2 separate regions of the Homo sapiens genome follow, and region 2 is linked to region 1. The links are contacts of gene promoters, found by promoter capture Hi-C in human tissues and cell types (Jung and others, 2019). All regions are on one chromosome and are shown on one strand. Each heading gives the region's core, a stretch centred on a gene start or on the middle of the fragment in contact. The rest is flanking DNA. Distances are from core to core; before and after follow the strand shown.

The links. Contacts are between HindIII fragments. The study calls those that stand out against the background at their distance.
Region 2: a contact is called between a fragment that was not itself captured here and the fragment with the promoter of EID1 in region 1, in 1 of the 25 tissues and cell types used here (dorsolateral prefrontal cortex).

Annotation. Positions count from the first base shown.
Region 1 is chr15:48,873,751-48,881,265 of GRCh38, reverse strand. EID1 (EP300 interacting inhibitor of differentiation 1) reads right to left here and starts at 3,132. Exons shown (of 1, transcript NM_014335.3): 1 at 1,093-3,132. The coding sequence starts at 3,089. The coding sequence ends at 2,526. All of the region lies in intron 4 of SHC4 (SHC adaptor protein 4), which reads left to right. RefSeq lists enhancers at 2,878-3,177, 3,448-3,557 and a silencer at 6,622-6,943. The HindIII fragment of the contact is 3,865 bases long and covers 2,597-6,461 here.
Region 2 is chr15:49,210,735-49,218,249 of GRCh38, reverse strand. GALK2 (galactokinase 2) reads right to left here. Exons shown (of 10, transcript NM_002044.4): 3 at 937-1,060. Among named protein-coding and RNA genes, the nearest start is that of GALK2, 44 kb to the right of the region's middle. RefSeq lists a silencer at 6,351-6,551. The HindIII fragment of the contact is 3,874 bases long and covers 1,355-5,228 here.

The DNA.
Region 1 (7,515 bases), core at 1,883-4,382:
TGCTGTCTCTGTACTGAGATGTTGGTCTCTTAAAATTATAAGCATGAACCAAACAAAATAGATCTGTGGCCTGAAGACAGTCAACATGGGATATCTGATCTAAGCGAACATTTATAATATGTATGGATAAATTTGGAAAACTCTCCCTAATCACACCGTGTACTCAAAATCTTCTTTAAATCCCCTACCTTGCAAAATCAGAATTTCCCCAGAACTCCTTTCTCTAGCTTCCTTAAATGAAGACACACACACACACACACACACACACACACACACACACTCTCACACACATCATCATTTAGTCCTCACAATTTGTAAGGTACATCCAATTGTTCCTATTTTCAGTTTAGGACATGAGCCAGAGAGATTAATTTCCCAGTTACTGAGCTAATAAATAGTAGAACCCAAATTTTAACCAAGTAGTCTGGTTTGTCTGTGGCAACTGCATGTAAAAGAAACACAAATAATTTTACACCCCTAAAAGGGGTGTTAAAATGTTTTCTATCCTCAATAAATACAAGTAAGTATTTACAATTTTCATTGTCTCTCAGCTTACTGCCTATTTTTAAGACTGAAAAACAACCAAGTCAATTGCAGAGCCCAGGTTTTTCTCCCCAAGATGGGCCTTCAGATGGAATAGTGTTTCCCACCCCCACCTCTTTGCCCTACTCAGTCCCAGAGAAAAACAGAATCACAACCTTCTAGTTTGTGGACCTCAGATTTTTTTTTCCAAGAGTTTATCTTTCCTAGTAAAGATAAACTTTCCTGGTAAAGATAAAGATCTGGAGGTAAATACAACCAGCCAGTTTATTGTGCACTAGCATACCCCCACCCACACTAATTTACATCATCCATGCAATTAATTACCTATCCACACTCATCTGACCGTAGCTGCACGCTAATTGAGAAAGCAGTGGAAGAGGCAGTAGGATTAAGTCTAAGCACCAACATTTTACTTCCACCATCTCTCCCTCCTAACCCAGCTAGTGTCTGAGCAATTCTGATCAGCCTTGTCACAGTCCTATCTTTTACAGATCTCTCTCCCCAAAAGACAGGATGACCATAAAATAAATAAGGCTCTGAATTGTCCTGTTGCATTGGATATTCGTTCTTTACTGCTATAATGGAGCAGAAGCATTTGGAACATTTTTACTGATCATGATAAAACCTGCTGATACACTTATTTTGCTGAACCTAGCCTTCTGATGTAATCATTACTCTCCTAGAACTTCAGCATCTTAGTAAGGTAACCACGGCAACATACTCATTGATAGGGCAGGTTTTCCCAGACCAGCAAATTCTTATAGGCAAAAACTTAATTTACAAAGTTTAATTTCCAGAAATTAATTTGTGAATTAGATAGCTGAAGCTGGATCATTTTCCCTTAATACTGGTTAACACATACAATAGAAAGTAGTATACAGAGAAAGTATGTATGCAATACTATTAGCCAAACAAAATACACAGAACAAGAAATTTTATTATCTCCAATGCTGGTGCATGACAAATAACAAGCTTAATTAGAGGAGGAGACAGAGGGAAACTTCAGATACCAAGGTAATTTCTGGGCAGGTTTAAAACCTTTAAAAGTTGATAGAATAACTGTTCATAAAGTCTTTTTAGATATAGCGCTTTTTACTTGACAACTTTTATTAACAGTTCTTACAATATGAAGTTCAACTAAAGTCCTTCATCTGTCAAGTTAAAACAGCAAGCAAAACAAAATTTCTCTAGTATATAACAGCATAAGCAATGGTTTGTTTTCTTTGTACATTCACACACATTTAGTGTCTAGATTTGAAACTTTTTAATTAAGGATGTCTTAATTTTTGACTTTTAAAAATGGTTATGACAATGGATTTTCTTGATTTATAGATCACAGTGGCTTTATAAATGATCAAGATACATGTACAAACAAAATTTCAGATGCTCTTGGAAACACATCTTAAGATACAAAGCACACGTGATACATATTTGAGTTTACTCATCCATTTATCTTACACTGAAAATGTAGCCTTTGATAACTGTGGCTTGACTAGATCACAAAATAGAATTTTCCAAGTTTTCTTAAGCTTTCAGTCCAAATAACTCAAAAGATATGTGTCCTAGTTGGATACATTTTTTTCTCATTATATAATTAGTATCAGTGGGCTTTTGTATTGGCAGTTTGTCTTGGTCATGACTTATTCTTGCAAAACCATCTTTACAGCAAACAAATATGAAAGATATTTTCCCCAATGCAAGGAAAATAATCTGGATCAATAACAAAGTCAAAGCCATAGGTGTTTTAGGACGTTCTTGATAATTGATTTCAACGGTCTTAAAATCTTTTTTCTTTTTCTTTAATGATTCTCTTCCTTTTTCACAACTGTGCAGTCACTGTCCTATTGTGTTCTATTCTGAAAAACAAATTTTTTTGAAGGTCAAGTTTTTCAATGGCACAAAACTATTTGGAATGAACCCAAAAGATAGCGGAAAGTTGGGTCCCTCCTCAAGTAGTTTCCTCCTCTTTTAACAGCATCTAACTACTCTCTATCAATAATCTCATCACAGCCGAGTTCTTCGGTCAGACGATTGACAACCATCAGTGAAAAAAGCTCTTCGATAAAAGCTAACTGATCAAACGGGGTCTTCTCATAATGCATCTGAAACCCGCCATCCAGGGCTGGTTCTCTTGTTCTCAGAAACATCTTGTCGGCTTCTTCAAGAGCGGCTGATACTCTGTAGCCGGCACCACTGAGCTGCTCCTCTTCGGGATAGTCGTAGTCGTCCTCCCAGTCATCAAATTCCTCGCCCTCGTCCTCGCTCTCGAAGTCTGCGCCCGCCACCTGGCCTGGCTGCTCCCCAGCGTTGGGCCCGTTAGCAAGGCTCCGTTTCCCCTCTGGCGCCGCCATTGGCTGGGCCTCCTCCTCCTCCATTGGGCCTTCCTCCTCGAGCTGTTGGGCCCCGCTGCGGGAGGGACGCAGGGATAGCTCCCGGCTCCCGCTGCCTACCTCCATCTGCGGAAGGTCACCCTCGCCAGGCATCACATCCATCTGCAGGTCACTGCTCTCTTCATACAGCTCGGACAACTCAGCCATTTCCGACATTGTGCAAACCGCTCAACCTCTAGGAAAAAGCTTCCAGCAAGACAGATGCTGCGCGGCCGTGCGTTCGTGCGCGTGCGCAAAGGCTGCGCGCTTGCGTAACCCCGCGCGCAGGCGTGGTCCTCAGGTACCGCCTCCTACTTGGCGCGCCACTGTGGTTGGAGTAGCTCAGTGTTTTCTCCGGGGTGTTGGCGTCGCCTTTTGAGCTACGTTTCCATCGATTCGAACTTCGTATCTAGGGACCCTGCATGCAAGAGCGTAACAGTTTCTGTGTTACTTAACCCTACTGCTGCTTGTAATGCTGCAAACCGGAAAATAACCTTACATGGCCTTCGTAACATTTAATGCTCCTTCCCCCCCTTCCTCTTCCCCTGGGCAATTTACCGATGTACTGATGACTTGTAAATCCACGTCTCCAAACCAGACAACATCCATAACCACAGATCAGCATATTAAGAACTAATCCATTTTGTCCTTTTAGTGTTTTCATTTAAAAAGTTAAATTCACAAACAACAGATATATTGTACTTTTTTTTTTTTTAGTTATAGTGAAGAAATACTTGGTCCCATTTCTTTTCGCCTGGGAGGTATCTTTCCACTATTAGCAATGCGGTGTGTATTCTTTGAATTCTTTTTATTTGCATTTACATGTATCTTTATGTATTGACAGCAAAATACTATTTTGTGTGTTTTTTAAAAACATGTTTTACCTGTTTTTACCTTCAACTTAAAAGCCTCAGGTTTTAAGTTGTATATACTTATATGAATTATATGACTGTGTATACTTACAGGATTCAAGCACATTTCATTTATTCTGCACTTTATTTCTATTATTATTACATTATAGTTATGTAGAATTATACAACTCACCATAATGTAGAATCAATGGGAGCCCTGAGCTTGTTTTCCTGCAACTAGATGGTCCCATCTGGGGGTGATGAGACACAGTGACACCCGAGGTGTGTTCCTTATGTCCGGTCTATTCTGTAATCTCATTTTGGTTGCTGTTACTGTGGAAAATCCTGCCTCACAAAGATAGGATGTTGAAAATGGAAGGAGGCTTTTCAGTACTTTTGTGGCAATCTCAGGATGTTCCGCCTTGACTTTAATCGAGAACGTATGGAGATTTGAAGTTGTCTCAAACATACTTTTAAGGCCACCGTCATTTGCAATATCAAGCAGTTGATCCTCTTCTAGCGTGGACAAAGTGGATTCACCTGGCTTATTCACAAATGGGTCACAGATCCATTCCGTCTTTTGTGGATGAGAAGTGTGATGGTTAATACTGAGTGTCAACTTGATTGGATTGAAGGATACAAGTATTGATCATTGGTGTGTCTGTGAGGGTGTTGCCAAAGGAGATTAACATTTGAGTCAGTGGGCTGCGAAAGGCAGACCCACCCTTAATCTGGTTGGGCACAATCTAATCAGCTGCCAGCTTGGCTAGAATATAAGCAGGCAGAAAAATGTGAAAAGAGAGACTGGCCTAGCCTCCCAGCCTAAATCTTTCTCCTGTGTTGGATGCTTCCTGCCCTCGAACATTGGATTCCCAAGTTCTTCAGTTTCAGAACTCGGACTGGCTCTCCTCTCTCCTTAGCCTGCAGACAGCCTATTGTAGGACCTTGTGATCATGTGAGTTAATACTTAGTGAACTCCCCTTTACATATATATACATATATATGTGTATATGTATGTGTGTATGTGTATATACGTGTGTGTGTGTGTGTATATATATATGTATATATTCCATTAGTTCTGTGCTTCTAGAGAACCATGACTAATACAGGAAGTAATGCTCAAAATATTTTGAAAGCTGAGATAGGTGATCATGCACCAGCTGGGAGAAAGAAGACCCTGGCTCAGTCTCTTTCAAAATCTCTGCTAATGTTTGAAATGTCAGAAATCCCAGTGTTCATTTGTCACCCGCATGATTCCAGTTTGGCTTTGAATGCAGCCACCTTATCTGCCAAGTTGAACACAGTTGTTGTTCGTCCCTGAAGTGACAGAGTTCACTGAGCAGGTTGAATATGTCACACAAGTAAGCAAGTTTTTTTGTGACCCATTCTGTGTCACTGAAATGTGCCGCCAATGGTGACTGTTTTTCTACAAAGAAATCTCTGAAGCAGCTCTCTTAACTCAAAAACTCTGGCCAGTGATCTACCTTTAGAAAGCCATCTCACTTCTGTGTGTAAGAGAAGACGTGTGTGCTCTGCATCCATCTCCTCACAGAGCTGCACAAACAGATGTGAGTTAAGGGCATGTATAATATGGTTGATAATTTTAATCACATACTGCAAAATGTTGTTAAGTTCAGGTGACATTTTCTGACTAGCCATCATTTCTCTATGGATGACATGGTGCATAGACTCACATTCAGAAGCGACCTCTTTGACCTGAGTAGTGAAACCAAAATGCCATCCAGTCATGGCAGCTGCTCCACCCATGCATATACCGATGCAAAATGACTGATTCCACTTTCCTGATATGTAATCATTCAAAGACTTGAATAGTTCTGCATCTGTGGTGCTGGTTGGCAACAAAAGTGCATATAGCATATCCTCATTCACATCCTCCTGCAAAATATATCACACACAAAAAAGCATTGTTCCTTTCTAACAATTGTGCCTCATTATCCTCTGATATTTCATCAGTTCATCTAGTTGTGGTGCTAGCCAAAAGAGGAACACATGCCACCTTTTGAACTGCAGCCTCTCCTGAAAGTTCATGACAAATGTCCTTAGAAGCAGGCAGGATCAACTCTTCATCAATAGTAAAGGACTTCTTAGCTTTAGCAATGTGGTTAGCCACTAAGAATGATGCTCTCAGTGCAAACACATCTGATGAAGTGGTGGCCTTCAATAATTTCTTCTATTCTTTGTGTTCACATTGTTTTCTTTTGAAAAACTCCAAAGGCTTAGTATTAATGCAGGGTGTGTGGTCTCCATGTGACAAAGCAGTTTAGAAGGCTTCATGGCTTTGTTAGATAGCCACTTGCTACATGTTATGCAAAGCAAGCTTGGATAATGTGAATCACCTGTTGTAATGAACTGGTATTTTAAGTAGGACTCTTGATATTTTCTTTTAAATGCAGCTTTATTTTTGTTGGCAGTCTTAAAGTCTTCTGCAGTCTCATCACTGGATCTTTCCCCCTTTTCAAAGAACCTCTCCAGTGAAGTTTGTTTTTTACTCATTTTGGCTAGGGTTAGCTTATGGGCTTACCAAAACTGTGACCGAGAAAGTGCATGGTGCAGGAAAGAGACATGGATGGGAGTGGTAAATAAAATAATGGGCGGGTCAGGAACAAACTAAAATAGTCGGATTCAGACTTAAAGCCTGCCATCAGCTGCAGCTGTACAACTGAAGTACATCAACTCACTTGCCACTATGTAGCCTGCCACCAGATGCAACTTAAGTGTCACTTGCTACTTACCGATAGGGTTTTGATATGAGTCTGCAAGCAATTGATTTATTATGGTCTCTGTGCAGTCAAACCTCTCTGCTATTGTTAATCTGTATTTGCAGCCACTCCCCAGCACTAGCGTCACCACCTCAGCTCTACCTCAGGTCATCAAGCATTAGATTCTCATAAGGAGCATGCAACCTAGATCCCTCGTATGTGTAGTTCACAATAGGGTTCATTCTCCTATGAGAATCTAATGTCGCCACTGATCTGACAGGAGGCAGAACTCAGACAGTAATGTGAGCAACGGGGAGCAGCAGTACATACACATGAAGCTTCTCTTGCTCATCCACTGCTCACCTCCTCTGCAGCCCGGTTCCTAACAGGCCACGGACTGGTACTTGGTCTCTGGCCAGGGGAGTCGGGAGCCCCTGCTCTAGTTCTTCTCACCATGGACACATGATTTCTGGCTGACTGCTGCTTGGTGTCAGATTTATCATAGACTAAAAGTTCTTAAATACATGAGTCTATTTTTAGACTTTGAATTCTTGTGACATTTTTACAGTTTTATATCTTGCTGTTTGATCAGGAATATTTTGTCTTTGTTCTTTAAAAAACTGCGCTAACTCTTCTTGTGCATTTATTCTTTCATATGAATTTAGGAGCATCTTGAATGTGATATTATAATATTTCTTATTATCTTATAAGGGAATTCTTATGCATTTGTTCTTTTAAAATTTGCTTTAGCTGTTCTTGCACATTTATTCTTCCATATGAATTTTAGAAGCATTTTTATTGGAATTGCATGGAATTTATAAATTAATCTGGGGTAGGATTGACACCTTTGTAATACCATCTTCTCATCCATGAGAGTGATATATATCTTTCTACTTGTTCAGATCTTATTTATACTCTTCAGTGAAGTTTTCCAAAAAGCATTACATGATTCTTATTAGTTTTGTACTAAAGTACTCTTACAAAGTGTACCTTTCTCCCCAAAATACAGTGTCTAATTGGCTATTTTTCTGT
Region 2 (7,515 bases), core at 2,042-4,541, 340 kb before region 1:
AAAAGGAAAAAAAGATCTTCTACAGTAAGTTCCATATAAAAGTAAAAAACTTCTACGTCTTGCACAAACTGGTATAGAGTCTTATCAAAAATATTTTCCGAATACATGAATGTTATTGCAGATAAACTAACCAATGAACAAGCCAAACATATAATATGCCAAATACAAGCCAAAATCTTTTTCTGTAATTATCAAGTCAAATCCATTATAATACATTAGAAGCAAGTAGAGTTTATCCCAGAAATGCAAAAAGGGCTCAACATTAGAAAATTCGTCAGACTAATTCACCATATTTTTAAAAAAACTGATCTTCAATTCTAAATAGACATTTAATTAAATTCAATACCCATTAGTAAACTTTTTTAATCTTAGCAAACTAAGATTTTTTTTAAAGACTTTGTTAACTTGATAAAGCATATGTACTAGAAACTTACCTCTATTAGGCACCAGACTCTGTTTTATATGCTAGGGCATTGAAGAAGAGAGGCAACAATGCCTGAAGTCACAGAGTTTACAGTCTACTGGGTGACACAGGTAAATAAACAGATAATAATAATACAGCATAATAATATGCTATGACAAGATACTTAGAAGGTGCCATAGTAACATAGGAAAACATCAGACCTGACTTTGCTGGAGATAATTAGATCAATAGATGATAAGTACCTATCGGACAAGGACAGAGTTATTTATCTTTGTATCACCTGGTATCTAAGACTATGTCTAGCACATGATAAGTCTTTGATAAATATTCCTTAAATGAATTGACAAATGAACAAAATGAACAATAAATAATGGCCTTAGAATTTTTTTAATGTCAGACACAAAATATCAATAAGTTAAATGACCTGTTACAAATTTGATGTCTCCTAAAGAGTTCATTTGGGTACAAACAGAACCATACATACACACACACTAACAATTTTAAATACTCACGGATACAAGGGATTTGTATTGGCCAGTTGGAGAGCGTACGTTTTCACAGGTTCTACAGCTATTAGCACATCTTGTTCTACAGCCATAGGAAGAACAGAATATCCACAATAATCTATATGCTCTCCTAGAAAAAAGAGAAAGCTTTTTTAATCATTGCTAATATATAAAACAAAAGCACCTCAAGAAAGTTTACATACAGGAAAAAACTGACCATGAGCCAGGTTTTAACAGTAAATAAAAATAAAGGGAAGCAGAGCAAGATGGCCAAATAGAACCCTTCCATGATCTTACACCAAATTGAGCAACTATCTATGCAATAAACACCTTCATAAGAACCCAGAAAATTCAGGTGAGTACCTGAAAATCACAGTACCTGGTTTTAACATAACATCAGGGATAGAGGAATTGAAGAGGACAGGAAAGACAGTCTTGCATTGCCTACAGGATCCCTTCCAGCATGGACAGAGAAACTGTGTTTGGGGGAGGGAGGGTGAAGTGAGTGTGGGTCTTTGCACTGGAACTTAGTGCAGCCATGTTACAGAAAAACACAAAACAGCAGAACTCTGCTAGCACCCAAGGAGGGGGCATTTAGATCAGCCCTGGGCAAGACAGAATTCTCAATCTCAGCAGGAGGAACCTGAGTCCCAACCAACCTCACCTCTGGCTAACTAAACTGGCCTAGTGCCCAGAATAAGCTTAAGTGGCTGTCAGGCCACAAGTACTGCAGTCCTCGGGCAAGCCCTGGTACTGCACCGGCCTTGGAGGCAGTAGACTTGTGATGTGTGACCAAGTGTGACACCAGCTGTGGCAGCCAGGGGAGTGCCTGATCGCACTGCACCCAACTCCAGGAAGTGCAGTTTGGGGAGAGATTCCTTTAGCTTAAGGAAAGAAGTGGGAAGAGTACAGAAGACTGTCTTGCAATTTGGGTACCAGCTCAGTCGAAGTAAAGCACCAAGGAGATTCCTGAAGCTGTCAATTCCAGGACTTAGTTCCTGGACCCACTCTCATTCAGAGGGAATCCACTGCCCTGAAGAGAAGAACCCAGTCTTGGCAGGATTCACCTGCTCACTAAAGATCCCTTGGGCCTTGAATAAACATCAGCAGTAACCAGGCAAGATCCAGTATTATACAGGCTTCAGGTGTGACCTAGCACAGTGCCAGCTGTGGAAGCCATGGAAGTGCTCTAGGCAGCCCAGTATGGAGACAGACTACTTCTGACTGGGAGGAGTAAAGGGAAGATATCAAGAGGACTTTGCCTGACAACCCAGGGAATTCTCCTTTACCTTACCCAAACTCGTCAAGGCAGTGCCTCTAGATGTCAGGAAGAATTGCAGCATTCCTGGGCTTAGAGCACCTCCTTGTGCCGATATGCCCATACGGACCACAGGCTTAGAGCACAACACACTCAATCCCATTTGAATACATGAAAAGCCTTCTCAAGAATGAAGGGTACAAACAAGCCCAGACTACACAGACAAATAAATATCTAATTTGTCAATGCCCATAAGTGATGAATGTCCACAAGCATCAAGAGTATCCAGGAAAACATGACCTCATTAAATGAACTACAGAAGACACCAGTGACCAATCCCAGAAAGATGGAGATGTATGTCCTTTCAGACAGAGAATTCAAAAGAACTGTCTTGAGGAAGCTCAACAAACTTAAAGATAACACAGGGAAGAAATTCATTATTCTACCAGAGAAATTTAACAAAGAGATTAAAATAGTTTTTGAAATTTCAAACAGAAATTCTGCAGCTGAAAAATTCAACTGGCAAACTCAAAAATGTCTCAGAGTCTCTCAACAGCAGAATCGATCAAGAAAAATAAATAGTGAACCTGAAGACAGGCTATATAAAAATACACAGTCAGAGGAGAGAAAAGAGAAATAATTTTAAAAGAATGAAGCCTCTCTACAAGATCTAGAAAATAGCCTAAAAGGGGCAAATCTAAGAGTTATTGGCTTTAAAGAGGATGTAGAGATAGAGAGATCAGGGTAGAAAGTTTATTCAGTGAAATACTGATAGAAAACTTTCCAAACCTAAGAAAAGATATAAATATTAAGGTATAAGAAGATCACACAACACCAAAAGGATTCAACCCAAATAAGACTAACTCAGTTAATATATTAATCAAACTCTCAAAGGTCAAGGATAAAGAAAGTATCCTAAAAGCAGAAAAAGAAAAGAAGCAAAGAACATATAAAGGGGCTCCAATATGTCTAGTAGGAGACAACTCCGCAGGAAACTTAGAGGCCAAGAGAGAGGGGGATGACATATTCAAAGTGTTGAAGAAAAACAACTTTTGAACTAGAATATTATTTCCAGTAAAATTATCCTTCAAACATGAAAGAGAAATACTTTCCCAGACAAACACAGCTGAGGGGTTTCAACAACACCAGACCTGTCTTGCAAAAAATGTTAAAGAGAGTTATTCAATCTGAAAGAAAAGCACATTAATGTAAAAAAATATATATCACATGGTGGTACAGAACTCACTGGTAGTGGTAAATGAACAGATGAATGAATACAGAATACTCTAACACTGTAACTATAGTGTTAAAACACTCATATCTTAGTAGGAAGATTAAAAGACAAACCTATCAAAAATAGTAACTGAAACAGCTTTCTGAGCATAAAAAGATATAAACAGAGACAATCAAAAGTGACAAAGCAGCCGGGCATGGTGGCTCAAGCCTGTAATCCTAGCACTTTGGGAGGACAAGGCAGGAAGATCACGAGGTCAGGAGATCAAGACTATCCTGGCTAACATGGTGAAACCCCATCTCTACTAAAAATACAAAAAAAAAAAAAAAAATAGCCGGGTGTGGTGGCAGGTGCCTGTAGTCCCAGCTACTTGGGAGGCTGAGGCAGGAGAATCGCTTGAACCCGGGAGGCAGAGGTTGAAGTGAGCCGAGATCACGCCACTGTATCCAGCCTGGGTGACAGAGTGAGACTCCATCTCAAAAAAAAAAAAAAAAAGTGACAAAGTGAAGAAATGGGGTTAAGGTAAAGTTTTGGGGGGTTTTTTTGTTTTCTTTTTGCTGATTTCTTTTTTATTTTCATTGTAATCAGAGTTAAGCTGTCATCTGCTTAAAATAATTGGTTATGTTATTTGCAAGCCTCACAGTAACCACAAAACAAAAACCTGTAACAGATACAAAAAAAGTTGGGTTTTTTTGTTTGTTTGTTTTTGAGACAGACTCTTGCTCGGTCGCCCAGGCTGGAGTGCAGTGGCATGATCTCAGCTCACTGCACGCTCCACCTCCCGGGTTCATGCCATTCTCCTGCCTCAGCCTCCTGAGTAGCTGGGACTACAGGCACCCGCCACCATGCCCAGCTAAATCTTTTTTTATTTTTTAGTAGAGATGGGGTTTCACCGTGTTAGCCATGATGGTCTCGATCTCCTGACCCCATGATCCACCCGCCTCCACCTGCCAACGTGCTGGGATTACAGGCGTGAGGCACCATGCCCAGCCCAAAAAAAGTTTTAAATAATAAATTAAAACATTGTCAGAAAAAGTCACTTTTACACAAAGGAAGACAAGAAGGAAGGAAGAGAGGACCAACAAAACAACCAGAAAATAAATAACAAAATGGCAGTAGTAAGTCTGTACCTTATAACTATAACATCGAATATAAATGGACTAAATTCCCAATAAAAGACAAAGTGGATGAATGGATTATAAAAACAAAAACAATAAGCTAACCTCATCAATAAAGACATGCAGACCAAAAAAAATAAAATAAAATAGAAAAAGATATTCCGGAACACACACCAGGGCCAATTGTGGGGTGGAGGGGAAGGGGAGGAAGAGCATTAGGACAAATAGCTAATGCATGCGGGGCTTAAAACCTAGACAATGGGTTGACAGGTGCAGCAAACCACCATGGCACACGTATACCTAGGTATCAAACCTACACATTCTGCATTTATATCCCAGAACTTAAAGTAAAATTTTTTAAAAAAGAAAAAGATACTCCATACAAATGAAAACCAAACGAGAGCAAGAGTAGTTATGCATAAATAAACAGGATTCAAGATAAAAACTATAAAAAGAGACGAAGGTCATTATATAATGTCAAAGGAGTCAGTTCAGCAACAGGATATAACAATTGTAAATATATGTGCACCCAATGCTGGAGCACTCAGATATGTAAAACAAATATTATTAAAACTAAAAAGAAGGATAGATGCCTATAGAATAATAGCTGGGGATTTCAAAACCTCACTTTCAGCCCTAGGGTATTTATCCAGGGAGAAAATCAACAAAGAAACATCAGACTTAATCTGCACTATAGAACAAATGGATATTTATAAAAACATTCCATCCAACAGCCCCAGAATACACATTCTTCTCATCAGTGCCCAGAATATTCTCCAGGATAGATCTTAAGTTAGACCACAAAACAAGTCTCAAAAAGTTCAAAAAAGTTAAAATAATATCAAGTAACTTCTCTGATCATAATGAAATAAAATTAGAAATAAACATGAAGAAAAACTTTGGAAACTAAGCAAACACTTGGAAAGTAAAAAATATGCTCCTGAATGACCAGTGGGCCAATGAAAAAATTAAGAAATTTTTAAATTTCATGAAACAATTGGGAGTGAAAAGACAACAGATCAAAATCTCCATGATACAGAAAGAGCAGTACAAAAAAGCACATTTAAAACAATAAACACCTACATCAAAAAGGTAGAAATATGTCAAATAAGCAACCTAAAGATGAATCTTAACAAATGAGAAAGGCAAAAGCAAATGAAATGCAGAATTAGTAGAGGAAAAGAATTCGGATCAGAGCAAAAATAAGTAAAATTGAAATTTAAAACTACAAAAAAAAATCAATGAAATTAAAAGTTGGTGTTTTGCAAACATAAACTAAATCAAAAAACCTTTAGCCACACTAAGTAAAAAAGAGGCCAGGTGCACTGGCTCACACCTGTAATCCCAGCACTTTGGGAGGGGAGGCCAAGGTGGGCAGATCACAAGGCCAGGCGTTCAAGACCAGCCTGGCCAACAGGGTGAAACCCCATCTCTACTAAAAATACAAAAATTATCCAGGCATGGTCGTGGACACCTGTAATCCCAGCTACTCGGGAGGCTGAGGCAGGACAATCACTTGAATCTGAGAGGTGGAGGTTGCAGTGAGTTGAGATAGCGCCACTGCACTCCAGCCTGGGCAACAGAGCGAGACTCCATTTCAAACAAAAAAGAAAAAGTAAAAAATAAAGAAGATTCAAATAAATAAAGTCAGATAATTTTTTTTAAAGATATTATAACTGATAGCAGAGAGTCAAGGCATCATTAGAGACTATTATGAGCAACTATATACCAACAAATTAGAAAACCAAGAAGAAAGGGATCAATGCCTAGACCCATATGATATGGCTTGGATCTGTGTCCCCACCCAAATCTCATGGTGAAATGTAATACCTAATGCTGGAAGTGAAGCCTGGTGGGTGTTGATTGAATCATGGAGGTGGTTTCTAATGGCTTAACACAATCTCCTGAGTGTGGTTCTCATGATAGAGTTCTCATGAGATCTGATCATTTAAAAGAGTATAGCACTTCCCCTCCCTCTCGTCCTCCTGCTCTAGCCATGTACGGCGTGCCTCCTTCCCCTTTGTCTTCCACCATGCTTGTAAGTTTCCTGAGGCTTTCCCAGCCATGCTTCCTGTACAGCCTGCAAAATTGTGAGCCAATTAAACCTCTTTTTTTAAATAAATTATCCAGTCTCAGATACTTCTTTATAGCAGTGCAAGAGCAGATTAATACAGAAAATTGGTATCAGAAGTGGGGCATTGCTATAAAGATACCTGAAAATGTGAAAGCACCTTTGGAACTAGGTAAGTGGCAGAGGTTGGAACAGTTTGGAGGGCTCAGAAAAAAGATAGGACGATGAGGGAAAGTTTGGAACTTCCAAGAAACTTGTTGAATGGTTGTGTCCAAAATGCTGATAATAATATGAACAATGAAGTCCCAGCTAAAGAGGTCTCAGATGAAAATACAAAACTTTTTGAGAACTAGAGTAAAGGTCACTTTTGTTATGCTTTAGCAAAGAGTCTGGAGGCATTGTGCCCCTGCTCTGGGGACCTGTGGAACTTTGAACTTGAGAGTGATGATATCTGGTGAAAAAAATTTCTAAGCAGCAAAGCATTCAAGATGTAGTCTGGCTGCTTCTAACAACCTATGCTCTTATGCATAAGCAAAGAAATGACCTGAAACTGGAATTTATATTTAAAAGGGAAGCAGAGTGAACAAGTTTGAAAAATTGAAGCCCAGCCATGTGGTAGAAATGAAAAGGCCGTGTGTGTGTGTGTGTGTGTGTGTGTGTGTGTGAGTGTGTGTGTGTGTGACAGCCAACATTGGGAAACCCCGTCTCTAGTAAAAATACAAAAATTAGCCAGGCATGGTGGCACATGCCTGTAATCCCAGCTACTCAGGACGCTGAAGCACAAGAATCACTTGAGTCCAGGAAGTGCAGGTTGCAGTGAGCCAAGATCGTGCCACTACACTCCAGCCTGGGCAACAGGGCGAGACTACATCTCGAAAGTTAAAAATAAAATAAAATAGACCAG